Linked DNA regions of Homo sapiens: region 1 is linked to region 2. The links are contacts of gene promoters, found by promoter capture Hi-C in human tissues and cell types (Jung and others, 2019). All regions are on one chromosome and are shown on one strand. Each heading gives the region's core, a stretch centred on a gene start or on the middle of the fragment in contact. The rest is flanking DNA. Distances are from core to core; before and after follow the strand shown.

Region 1 (5,895 bases), core at 3,396-5,895, 280 kb before region 2:
TGCTTGAGCTCAGGAGTTCAAGTCCAGCCTGGGCAACATAGGGAGACCCTGTTCCTACTAAAAATAAAAATTAAAAATTAGCCAGGTGTGGCTGCATGCACCTGCAGTCCCAGCTACTTGGGAGGCTGAGACAGGAGGATCACTTGAGCCTAGGCCAAGGCAGCAGGGATGAGTGATCACACCACTGCCCTCCAGTCTGGGTGACAGCACAAGACCCTGTCTCAAAAATGAAAAGCTTTATTGTTGCTTCTGAGAGTCACCTTGCCTGGGGACGAAGAACGTTCTATTAGGCCGGCGAGAGGGCTGACCTTACTGCCTTCAGCCAGGATGGCTGGGAAACTGCCTCCTCTTCCTCAGAGAGGACCAGGTGACCTTCCCATGGGCTTGTAGGGCCCGTGGCCAGGGAGGGGCTGACTGAGGGCTGGCATCTCACAGACCACGACAAAAACACAGCAAACAGGGCAGGTGGGAGGAAGGATCTCAGGTTCCTAGAGGAAAGGAGAGGATGACCAGGACTGGCGCTTACCTGATGTGGAAGTTCTGCACATTGACGTTCTTATACGGGGCTGTCTTTCTCTGGCACCAGAGAAGGAGCCCTTCCTTGGCCGAGGTCTCTGCAAAACACACAAAGACAGTGAGCACTGGCTCAAAAATAAACCCTCAGAACTCAGCCCAAGTTGGATGGGACTTTCGGCTCAGGCCTGGGGTCAAACGAAACCCAAGGGGAGAGGATATCTGTCCTAACAACAGCAGCAGTGATAGCAGCGGGACAGCCACTCCCATTCCGGATGCAGACGGATGCTGCCAGGCCCAACTGCCAGGACACACGGCCCTGCTTAATCCTCACGGCCCCGAGGAGAGTCGCTTGACCAGGGCTGCCCCAGGAGGTGGTGGTGTCAGGGCCTGAATCTGTGCCATGTGCCTGGCCACCAAGCCTGTGCCTTTCACCACCAGAACACACTGCAGACAGGCCCTTGATACCGGCCTTGGCCTCTTTTGAACAAGGTGAAATACCAGCTGTAGAGAGGCCTAGGGGGCCCTTCTGTTCCCCGTGGATAGCTCGGCTGTCCTCACAGACCGGGAGCCCTTCGAGGGCAGGAAGCACATCTCTCCCAGTCATCACTGCGACCTGGCACCTGGGAGCCCCTGCACGCTAGCCCAGGTGGCTCTGCCCATCCTGTGTGCACACAGGTGCTTGCAGGGAAGCGAAATTGTCCATTCCTGGACGGCCTGAGCTCATAACGGGTCCATGGGGGCCAAGTTTCAAGGATGGGGATGTCAAGCAGACAGAGAACCAGGCCCAGGCCCAACTCTCTCACTAGTCTGTTCTGGGACTTGGGTTCCTGGACTGTAAAACGGGCCCAGCCATCCTAGCCCATCTCATGAGGGTGGCGTGAGGGTCCACTGAGATGAGGCTGTGAGAGCAAAGGCACTCGGAAGGCACTGGAGCCAAGAGGCAGGCAGCTGGGAGGAGCCTCCCTTCACCTGCCACCCACTGACTACCCCTGCAAGGGCCAGGCCCTGTGAGTGACCCCAAGGAAACAGGAAGAGGCTTGAAGCATGAAGATCACACTTCAGCTCTCCTCTAACCCGCCCTGACTCAGGTGGGAAGCGGGGGCAGTACAGGTGGCTGTCACCTTCCACGGAGATGTCCTGGATGGCGAACCTAAGGATGATGGTCCAGATCATTCCCAGGGTCATCTTTGCGTTGCCGTCCACAATCTCTGCACACAGGGAAGGGGGCAGAGGGCAGAAGGTCGTTAAAACCAGAGTGAGGCTCCTCCGCCCAACCTGAAGGTGGCCTTCCAGCCCCATCTAGAGAAAGGCTCCAAACCACCCCCTGGTTGCATCTCCCAGGCCTGTCCTCCTCCACCTCCCTCAGGAGAAAATGCAGGGAACAGTCTCTAGGCAGCACTGTCCCAGAGCCTCCTGCTGCTGAGCGCCTGCAGGCTTCTGGCCACAAGGGTCCCTGGCCCCGCAGCCAGCTCCTTCTCCTGACCCAACTCAAAAAACCGCTCCTCCAAGAGGCTGGTCCCAGGCGTGTGGCCTCTGTTCACACCTCTCTCAACTCTCAGTGCTCTGTACATTTCTGCCGTAATCTGCGTACCTCCTGACTACAGGGGGGCACCCCGGGCCCCCACTCTCAGGGCAAAGGTGGTCTTTTTCATCTCGCAGTCAGCAAATGTGCACTACATTATTGTTTATTGTGAATCTGTCCACTTCCTTCCAATCCTACTGCCGACACTCTCCACCAAGCCACTGTCATCTCCAGAGCTCAATGCGGCTGCCTCCTATGTACCCTTCCCGCCCATAATCCACATCGACACAGCAGCGAGCATGGTTGGTTTCCTTCTTTTGAGACAGGGTCTGGCTGGCTGGAGTGCAATGGTGTAGTCATAGCTCACTGCAGCCTTGACTGCCTGGGCTCAAGCAATCCTTCTGCCTCAGTCTCCCGAGTAGCTGGGACCACAGACGCATGCCACAACATCTTGCTAGTTTTTAAACTTTTTGTAGAGGCTGGGTCTTATTATGTTACCCAAGCTGGTCTCAAACTCCTGCTCAAGTGATCTTCCTGCCTTGGCCTCCCAAAGTGCTGGGATTGCAGGTGTGAGCCACCATGCCTGGCCCACAGGGAAAGGGCTTGCCCTGAAGGCCCAGGCCCTGCCATCCTGCTGGAATTCTCTAGCTGCATCCTCTGGGCAAGCCAGGCTCTTTCTTGCTTTGATACGCTCTGTCCACTCACAAAGCACGCCCCTAGCCTGCGACCCTCAACTGGCTGGTCCTTCTCATCGTGTAAGCTTCTGCTTGTGTCACCTCTCGTGGTGGCTTCCCTGACTGCCCGTCCCAAGGAGCTCCCCAACCCGCCACCCAGTTCCTCTCCCTGGCCCCTGTGCTGCCCCAAGGCATCACTAGTGAAATCACATGTTGGTCGGGCTGTTTACTTGTTCACTGTCTGCCTGCCCTCGTGAGGGCGGGGCTGCTCTGACCACCACTGGATCCAGTGCCTGGAAGGCCAGTGAGGAACAAGCATGGCTGCTGTGTTGTCAGGAAGGGGAGAGCACGGGCCTGAGGCCAGACTGCACGCTTTCTGAACTAACCTAAAAACAAACATTTGCGGCCGGCTGTGGTGGCTCACGCCTGTTTAGTCCCAGCAATTTGGGAGGCTGAGGCAGGTGTGGATCGCCTGAGGTCAGGAGTTCGAGACCAGCCCGGCCAAGATGGTGAAGCCCCGTCTCTACTAAAAACACAAAATTAGCCTGGCGTGGTGGCGGGTGCTTGTAATCCCAGCTACTCTGGAGGCTGAGGCAGGAGAATTGCTTGAGCCCGGGAGGCAGAGGTTGCAGTGAGCTGAGATTGCACCATTGCACTCCAGCCTAGGTGACAAGAGTGAGATTCCATCTCAAAAAAAAAAAAAAAAAAATTGCTGAAACTTCTCAAAAGAAGGGCTTGGACCACACCTTCTTCAGCCTCAGTAACTTAAGAGAAAAATCATCTCTGCAAGGCCCAGGACAGCTGTGTGTCTGCGGCTGGGTGAGAGAAGGCAGTGCCTCATCCCAGAGTCCATCAGCCAGCCGTGCCTAGGGCAGTCCTCCCAACTTGTCAACACGCCATATGCAAGGGGCATGATGGAGTGGCTTCCAAAGAAGACAGAGGGGCGCCACTGCTGCAAGCACTCTCGGGGAAGGGCTGGGCACAGGGGTGAGTTCCAAAGCTAACTGCAGAGCTGGAGGCCCAGGACACCACAGGAGACCCTGCTCACTGACCTCTGAGCAGAATACTCCAGGGCAGGCTTGCTTGGAAGCAGGTGGAGAGGTCACAGAGAAGATGGGGCTCACCTTCCCCCGGGGACACACCCAGAGGAAGGGGGTGTCCATGAGCCACAGCTTTCGGGTTTTGAGAGGAGGAAATATGCTCATTCTGCTGCCCAGAGACAGGGGAGGGACCCAGTGTCCACCCTGTCCTAGGGTTCAGAGCCCCAGACCCAGAAACTGAGCAGCACCACCTGCCCCTTAGTGCAGCGAGGCAGCTCGAGCCTCAGGAAATCTATTCTGTGCACCTCCTGAGGGCCGGGCCTGCAGAGCTGGGCAAGGCCGCAGCTCCCCGGCTCAGCAAGTACAGGTGCAGCTGGTAACGGAGGGCTTATGGAGTTCCGGTGAGGAGAGGAGGATGGCGTTTCTCATGACACATCCACCAGCTGCTTCTCTGACCTGCAGCTGTGCCTCCGGCCCCTCTCATCACCCCCACGGGAAGCCAATGCTCCCGCGAATGCCCAATCATGTGGAAGGACAGGGGGACAGGGTGGGGCGGGGTTCTCAGGTGCCTTGAGCCCCAGGAACGCCTCCATTAGGCTTTGTTCCAAGGCCCCACAGTCACAGGGATTGGGAGTGAACCAATTTGGGCATGAACAGAGAACATTTTTAGACCAAGTTTTTCTCCAAATGAAAACTGATGACTGACATGGGTCTCTCCTCTAACCCCTTCTGTATTTACAGACTAGCATTTGAGCAAAATAAATGCAGCTGTGAGAAGCAGAAGGCTGGAACAGAGCCTGGAGGAAAGACCCATGCAAGGACAGAAAATCTCAGGGCCTGACTGAATTTTTGGGTTGTGATTTTTTTAAACAAACACCAACCACCTCGACTGTGGCATGCAAGGCTTGGCACCCCTCATCGCAGAGGTCCTGGGCCGGGGCAGAGCCTTGGAACTCAGCACACACATTCTGGCCCGGAGTCTTGGCCAAACTCTCAGAGCCCTGTCATTAACGGCAATTAGTTTACTTTGTTTTTCTAGAAGCTGGGACAACATGGATGTCAGGGTGAAGAAATCTTACTCTGACTAATGAGTGGACTGCGAGCTCATGCTGCTGGGGCTCCATCAGGCCTCGCCTGTCTCTAAAAGCGCCTGGGAGCTCAACCCAGGGGCCCCTGCTGAGAGCCTGCTGCTCTAGTGAGGGCCTGCAGGTAGTGGACTGTGGTCCTGGTTATCTACGTGGGGCCCAGGAGGATCCTGGGGTGGTCAGAGGCAAAATTCTCCAAGCCCATGCACACAGGGCAAAGTCTAGGCACTGACCTTTGGCCGTGCACTCCCTGTCCCAATGCCTGACATGGGGCCTCCAGTCCTTCTCTGATACCGGGCAGGGCATAATGAGAAAGGTGTTCCTGGTACAGAGAGAGGCCATGGCACATGTTTGTCACTGTCTGCTGAGCCTGGCACAAGGAGAACCAGTGAGGGCGACCTGAGTCCGAGTCAAAACCATTCCTCCCCCTGCAGAAGCCGTCGCCCCCGTGGTTGGGTGGGTTGCACTTCCTAGATTTGGACTGCGCCCACCGGATTTTTCCAAGGGTTTGGGGGAGCTTGTGGGCCCAGCATCATATCAAGAGCAGTTGTTGTGATCACTGCTGAGTATGTACTGGGGCTCTGAGTGCCCCAAGCGCCCTGCCACCAACAAAACTTCTCTTCAGGATGCAGATGTTGTGCTTCAGAGCCTAAAGGTCAGAAACCGAGCAGGACCCTCGCTGCCCCACCTCCAGCTCACCTTCTGCCCCGATGGAGACCAGCTTGACGCCTTTGCTGGCAATAAAGTCCAGCGCTTTGTTCACATTGTTGATTTTGTGCACTCTCATCTTCCCCCGCTCCGGCTTAGGTAACCGCTCCCCTGAGAAGTGCACAAAGAGAAAAGAGGGGGCGAGACAGAGAGAGAGAAAGGGAGAGAGGGCGAGAGGGAGAGAGGCTTTAGAGTCTCCTCTGTTCTCCAAAAGCAGGTTCCTCTGCTGGCCCACCAGGCCACTCTGGCCCCACCCATCAGACCACCGTGCAGCTATTAAGGGGTGCCCTCTCCTCCCCAGGAGCAATGGGACAGCTGGGTGGGCAGGGTCTCTGGGGACCGCTGTGGCA
Region 2 (6,130 bases), core at 1,251-3,750:
AACTCACTTAACTTAAAATGTTTTAGTGTCTAGTTATTACCAGACTCTAGACTGATGAAAAATAGAACTTAGTGCTGTGACTCACGCCTGTAACCCCAGCACTTTGGGAGGCTGAGGCGGGTGGATTATTTGAGACCAGGAGTTCAAGACCAGCCTGGCCAATATGGCAAAACCCCGTCTCTACAAAAATTAGCTGGGTGTGGTGGCACACACCTGTGATCCCAGATACTGGGGAGGCTGAGGCAGGAGAATCGCTTCAATCGCAGAGGTTGCAGTGAGCTGAGATCACGCCACTGCACTCCAGACTGGGCGACAGAGCAGGACTCTGTCTCAAAAATAAAAAAAAAAAATAGAAGTTAGCATGCCACCAGCCCGCTTAGTCACTATCCACAACACCTATCTCTAAATAAATAAATATATATATATAAGTCATGGAATTGTCACATAATGAAAGACTATATGGAATTATTATTATTATTATTATTATTATTATTTTGAGACAGAGTCTCGCTCTGTCGCCCAAGCTGAAGTGCAGTGGTGCAATCTCGGCTCGCTACAACCTCCTCCTCCCGGGTTCAAGCGATTCTCCTGCCTCAGCCTCCCAAGTAGCTGGGATTACAGGCACGCACCACCACACCTGGCTCATTTTTGTATTTGTAGTAGAGATGGGAGTTTCACCATGTTGGCCAGACGGGTCTCGAACTCCTGACCTCAAGTGATCTGCCCATCTCAGCCTCCCAAAGTGCTGGGATTACAGGCGTGAGCCACCGCGCCCGGCCAAAAAAAGGAATAAATTATAACCAAATATGATAACATGGAAGAACTGCAAAGACAAGACGTGGAGAGAAAGAACCCAGATTCAATACAGGAGTCCATTTTTATCCAGCTCAAAACAAGACAAAACTACTGCGCCAGACTTCGGGCGAGTGGGGATCTGTGGGAATTCGTGCTGGGAAGAAAGACAGGGGGCTTGTGGAGGGTGAGAATGTTCTGTGTCTGGATTTGTATGAATGTCACACAGGTTTGCTCAGTTGGTGACATTTCATCAACCTAAATACTTAATGATTCGTGATCTTTTTTGTACTTCAATTTAAAAAAAAGTGTCGAGCATGACACATTTAGGTAAAAAGAAAAAAATGCACACTCAAAAGAAAAGTCTGTTTCTAGGAGCACATGTTTATATGATGTGCTTAAACGCACAGACAGCAGTTTGGACGAAACTCGACAACGTGTCATATTGGTCACACCCTGCTTAAGAAAGGCAGGGGATGGGGAGGGGCTTCCCCAAGGCTTTACCTCCATCTCTAATGTTTTTTGATGTGTGTGTGTGTTTTTTTTTTTTGTTTTTTGTTTTTTGAGACAGGGTCTGGCTCTGCCACGCAGACTGAAGTGCAGTGGCACCATCATGGTTCACTGCAGCCTCGACCTCCTTGGGCTCAAGCAATCTTCTAGCCTCAGCCTCCTGAGTAGCTGGGACTACAAGTGTGCATCACTACGCTCAGCTAACTTTTTTTTTTTGAGACAGAGTTTCGCTCCTGTTGCCCAGGCTGGAGTGCAATGGCGCGATCTCGGCTCACGGCAACCTCCGCCTCCTGGGTTCAAGCAATTCTCCTGCCTCAGCCTGCCGAGTAGCTGGGATTACAGGCATGTGCCACAACGCCTGGCTAATTTTGTATTTTTAGTAGAGACGGGGTTTCTCCATGTTGCTCAGGCTGGTCTTAAACTCCCAACCTCAGGTGATCCGCCCACCTCGGCCTCCCAAAGTGCTGGGATTGCAGGAGTGAGCCACCACACCGGCCTAACGTTTTACATTTTTTGTAGAGACGGGGTTTTGTCACGTTGTTCAAGCTGGTCTCAAACTCTTAGACTCAAGCGATCCGCCTGCCTTGGCCTCCCAAAGTGCTGGATGACAGGCGTGAGCCCCTGTGAGCCCCCGTGCCTGGTCCGGTATGTAATTTTTTTTAAGGTAACAGTGGATTGTGTGAGGATTAAATGAGTTAATATTTTTAAAGTCCTTACAGCAGTGTGTGGTACACAGTAGGTGCTATGTGGAGGTTTGTTACAATAAAGTCAGAAAGTGAAAATGTTTTCCAGGGTACAAATGGTATCACTTAAACTAGGAATAAGAGACGCCTATGAAGAAATATACAAAATACTATGTCTTGTGAGTTTCCATTCAAACCTTCATGAATTATATATATGAATATGTCCTTCTAGACAGACAGACTTATCTTTTTGAGTGAGTGTGTGTGTTTTTACATAAATATCAGTCATGCTTTAAAAAGAAAAGCCCCTTCTTTTATTGAAGTATGACAGTGACGGGTCTCGACACCGAAAGATGGGGGAGATAGAGAGCCCGCCGGGGAGCTTGAGGGTGGGAGAGCCAGCGATGCCGGAAACCTCAGCAGAAGGGATCCCCGTGTGGGGGAGGGGGGCCTTCGGTCTCTCCCCAGCCTCTTCCTTCCCCCTGGCCTGAGGGTGGGTGGGGAGGGGCAGTTCCTCTTTCCTTCCCAAGCACCGAGGAGGCCCCAGCTCCCTAGGGGCTGAGAAGCTGGAGTCCTGGGCAAGGGGAGGAGCTGAGCCCTACTCTTGCAAGACCCCCGGCCTCCTCACCCCACGCGGGAAGCATGAACAGAAAAGACAGTAAGAGGTGAGAGGACCCTCCCCAGGGAGCCCGGCAGCACCCTGAGGCCTCCCTCTGCATGGGAGGGCTGGGGAGATCACTCGCCAGGGTGGCAGGATTCCTGACTTCTTTGGGATCAGGCGCAGGGGGGCCAGGTGGATGCTTCAGGGAGTCTGGAGCCAGCTACGGCTGCAGTCGCTTGTATGTGGCATCTGTACCGTGTTGTCCCTGGAGTTTGAGCTGCTCCGTGCCCCTTTTCCACTCCTCATCACCCCACCTCCATCCCTGGCCTGGGCTGAGTGTCTCTGCCCTCCCTGGGGGCTTCCTGGTTCCCCATCCCCGTGGACTGGAAACTCCAGGCTCCTGCAGGGCCTGGCCCAGGAGAGGGGAGTGTGGCACAGGGCAAGGCGACTCCCCTGCCTCTTAAACCACTCCTGGCTGTTCCAGACCCCTACAGGGGGCTGCAGGACAGGGCCTAGTGGCTGGCTGTGCGGCCGGTTCTGGAATGGGCTTCATCTCCTGGGCAAGCTGGCCCTTCTGTCCCCACAGAGGCAGATGGTGGGTGGCTCCCTAGCCTGGGTAACTCCTCCTGCCACCCCCAGCACCACTCTGATGGGCAAAGGGCTTTCCTCCCCACCCAGCAGTTTAGTGGTAGACTCCTGGCTGCCTAATTTCCTAGCTGTGTGACCTTAGGTAAGTCACTTAACTGCTCTGTGTCTCGGGTTTTTCTTCTGTCAGTAGAACAATCATATCCTCTACCTCGGAGAGGCCTGTAAGTACTCAATGAGACACTCTAGACCAGTGGTTCTCAAACTGGAGCGAGCCTCAGAACTGTCTGGAGGGCTTGTAAAATACAGGTTGCTGGGCTTACCTTTAAAGTGTTTGGTTTTTTTTTTTTTGTTTTTTTTTTTTGAGACGGAGTCTCGCTCTGCCGCCAGGCTGGAGTGCAGTGGCACAATCTTGGCTCACTGCAACCTCTGCCTCCCGGGTTCAAGCGATCATCCTGCCTCAGCCTCCCAAGTAGCTGGGACTACAGGTGTGCACCACCACACCCAGCTACTTTTTTGTATTTTTAGTAGAGATGGGGTTTCACCATGTTGGGCAGGATGGTCTCGATCTCTTGACCTCGTGATCCACCCACCTCGGCCTCCCAAAGTGCTGGGATTAGAGGCATGAGCCACCACCCTTAGCCTTAAAGTGTTTGATTTTGTAGGTCTGGGTTGGGACCTGAGAATCTGTATTGATATCCAGTTCCCAGGTGATGCTTTTGGTACTAGCTGGGTGCCCACACTTAGGGAAATGCTGACTTAGTTAGAATGCTCCTTCCTTAGCCTAGGACATATATAATACTTTAAAATGTCCCTTCTAGTAACGATGGCTCATGCCTCTAATCCCAGCACTTTGGGAGGATAAGACAAGGAGAACTTGAAGCCAGGAGTTCTAGACCAGCCTGAGAAATATAGTGAGACCCCCCCCCCCATTGACACACACCCAAACACACACACAAAATTAGCTGGGTATGGTCGTGCACACCTGTAGTCCCAGCTACCTGGGAGACTAAGGCAGGAGGATCACTCGAGTCCAGGAGTTCAAGGTTACAATGAGCTTTGATTGCACAACTGTGCTCCAGCCTGGGAGACAGAGCAAGACCCTGTCTGAAAAAGGGTAGAGGTGGGAGCCTGGCGTGATGGCTCACACCTGTAATCCCAGCACTTTCAGAGGCAAAGGTGGGAGGATCAGTTGGGCCCAGGAGTTTGAAACCAGCCTGGCCAACATGGTGAAACCCCATTTCTACTAAAAATACAAAAATTAGCTCGGCGTGGTGGCACGTGCCTGTAGTCCCAACTACTTGGGAGGCTGAGGCAGGAGAATTGCTTGAACCCGGGAGGTGGAGGTTGCAGTGAGCTGAGATCGCACCACTGCACTCCAGCCTGGGTGACAGAGTGAGACCCTGTCTCCAAAAAAAGAAAGAAAGAAAGAAAAAAGAAATCCCTGGAGAAGGTCCAAGGACTATCCTCATTTTTCCTTCGAGGAAATTGAGCCCCAGAGAAATTAAGTGACTAACACGAAGTCACAACAGCTGGCAAAAATTTCTGGATTCTACTTTCGTCTGAAGCTTGGATTCAGCAGCCTCCCTGCTCCCACCATCCTTGTCTCTCCATTACCCTCTTCCCCTATCAGGAACAGCAGCCTCTGGGAGGCACCAGGCAGAGGGAGAATTATTATTACTATTATTACTATTATTATTATTATTATTTTGAGACTAAGACTCGCTCTGTTGCCCAGGCTGGAGTGCAGTGGCACGATCTCGGCTCACTGCAACCTCCGCCTCCTGGGTTCAAGCAAGTCTTCTGCCTCAGCCTCCTGAGTAGCTGGGATTACAGGAGCCCACCACCACGCCTGGCTAATTTTTGTATTTTTAATAGAGATGGGGTTTCACCATGTTGGCCAGGCTGGTCTCGAACTCCTGACCTCAAGTGATCCACCCACCTCAGCCTCCCAAAGTGCTGGGACTACAGGCGTGAGCCACTGTGACTGGCCTCTCTTTTTAATTTTTTTATTATTATTTTTGAAACAGAAATCACTCTGTCACCCAGGTTGGAGCACAGTGATGCAGTTCCGGCTCACTGCAGCCTCCACCTCCTGGGTTCAAGCGACCCTCCTGCCTCAGCCTCCTGAGTAGCTGGGATTACAGGCGCCCGCCATCACGCCTGACCAATTTTTGCATTTTTAGTAGCGATGGGGGTTTCACCATGTTGGCCGGGGTGGTCTCGAACTCCTGGCCTCAAGTGATCCACCCACCTTGGCCTCCCAAAGCTTTGGGATTACAGGCGTGAGCCATCACACTGGTCCAAGAGCCTTGCTCTCTTGAGGGCTGTGGGAGGAAGGAGGGGAGGGTGTTAGAGACCAAACGGGAGCCCTGAGGAGGCAATTCCTGAAGGCAGGTCCTCCCATGCCTCTGCCTGGGGAGGACAGAAGAGATTCCAGGGGTCTTCTCCCGAGTCCCTGGTAGGCCAGGAGTAATCCTGGGATCTGCCAAAAGGAAGTCTCTTCCAGGATGCCCTGGAAGCAGTCAAGAGGAAGTTGGGGGCAATGCCTGGGGAAGGAGTTCTTATGATTCCCTGAGGGGTCTTGAGTGGTCCCAGGGGTCTTCTACTGTGATTCCCTGGGAGATTCAGAGCAGTCCTGAGCGGCGGTCCCCAGGCTTTTTGGCATCAGGGACCAGTTTTGTGGAAGGGGGTGGGGATGGTGTGGGGATGATTCAAGTTAATTACATGTATCCTGTGCTTTATTTTTATTATTATTACATTGTAATATATAATGAAATAGTTACGCAGCTCACCATAATGGAGAATCAGTGGGAGCCCTGAGCTTGTTTTCCTGCAACTGGATGCTCCCATCTGGGGGTGATGAGAGACAGTGACAGATCATCAGGCATTAGGCATCAGGCATCATAAACAGCACGCAGCCTAGATCATCAGGCATCATAAACAGCACGCAGCCTAG

Evidence for each region. The method cuts DNA at HindIII sites, captures the fragments that hold promoters and counts their contacts. A contact is called where the count stands out against the background at its distance.
Region 1: a contact is called between a fragment that was not itself captured here and the fragment with the promoter of RASGRP4 in region 2, in 1 of the 25 tissues and cell types used here (bladder).

Annotation. Positions count from the first base shown.
Region 1 is chr19:38,700,763-38,706,657 of GRCh38, reverse strand. ACTN4 (actinin alpha 4) reads right to left here. Exons shown (of 21, transcript NM_004924.6): 3 at 5,537-5,656; 4 at 1,638-1,724; 5 at 527-614. LOC107985291 (a long non-coding RNA gene) reads left to right here. Exons shown (of 2, transcript XR_001753937.2): 2 at 4,494-4,734. Among named protein-coding and RNA genes, the nearest start is that of CAPN12, 41 kb to the left of the region's middle. RefSeq lists enhancers at 1,274-2,043, 3,653-4,153. The HindIII fragment of the contact is 6,256 bases long and covers 1,518-5,895 here.
Region 2 is chr19:38,422,589-38,428,718 of GRCh38, reverse strand. It overlaps RASGRP4 (RAS guanyl releasing protein 4), which reads left to right and starts at 2,500. Exons shown (of 17, transcript NM_170604.3): 1 at 2,500-2,650. The coding sequence starts at 2,628. RefSeq lists an enhancer at 1,158-1,672 and a silencer at 2,565-2,624. The HindIII fragment of the contact is 24,204 bases long and covers 1-5,090 here.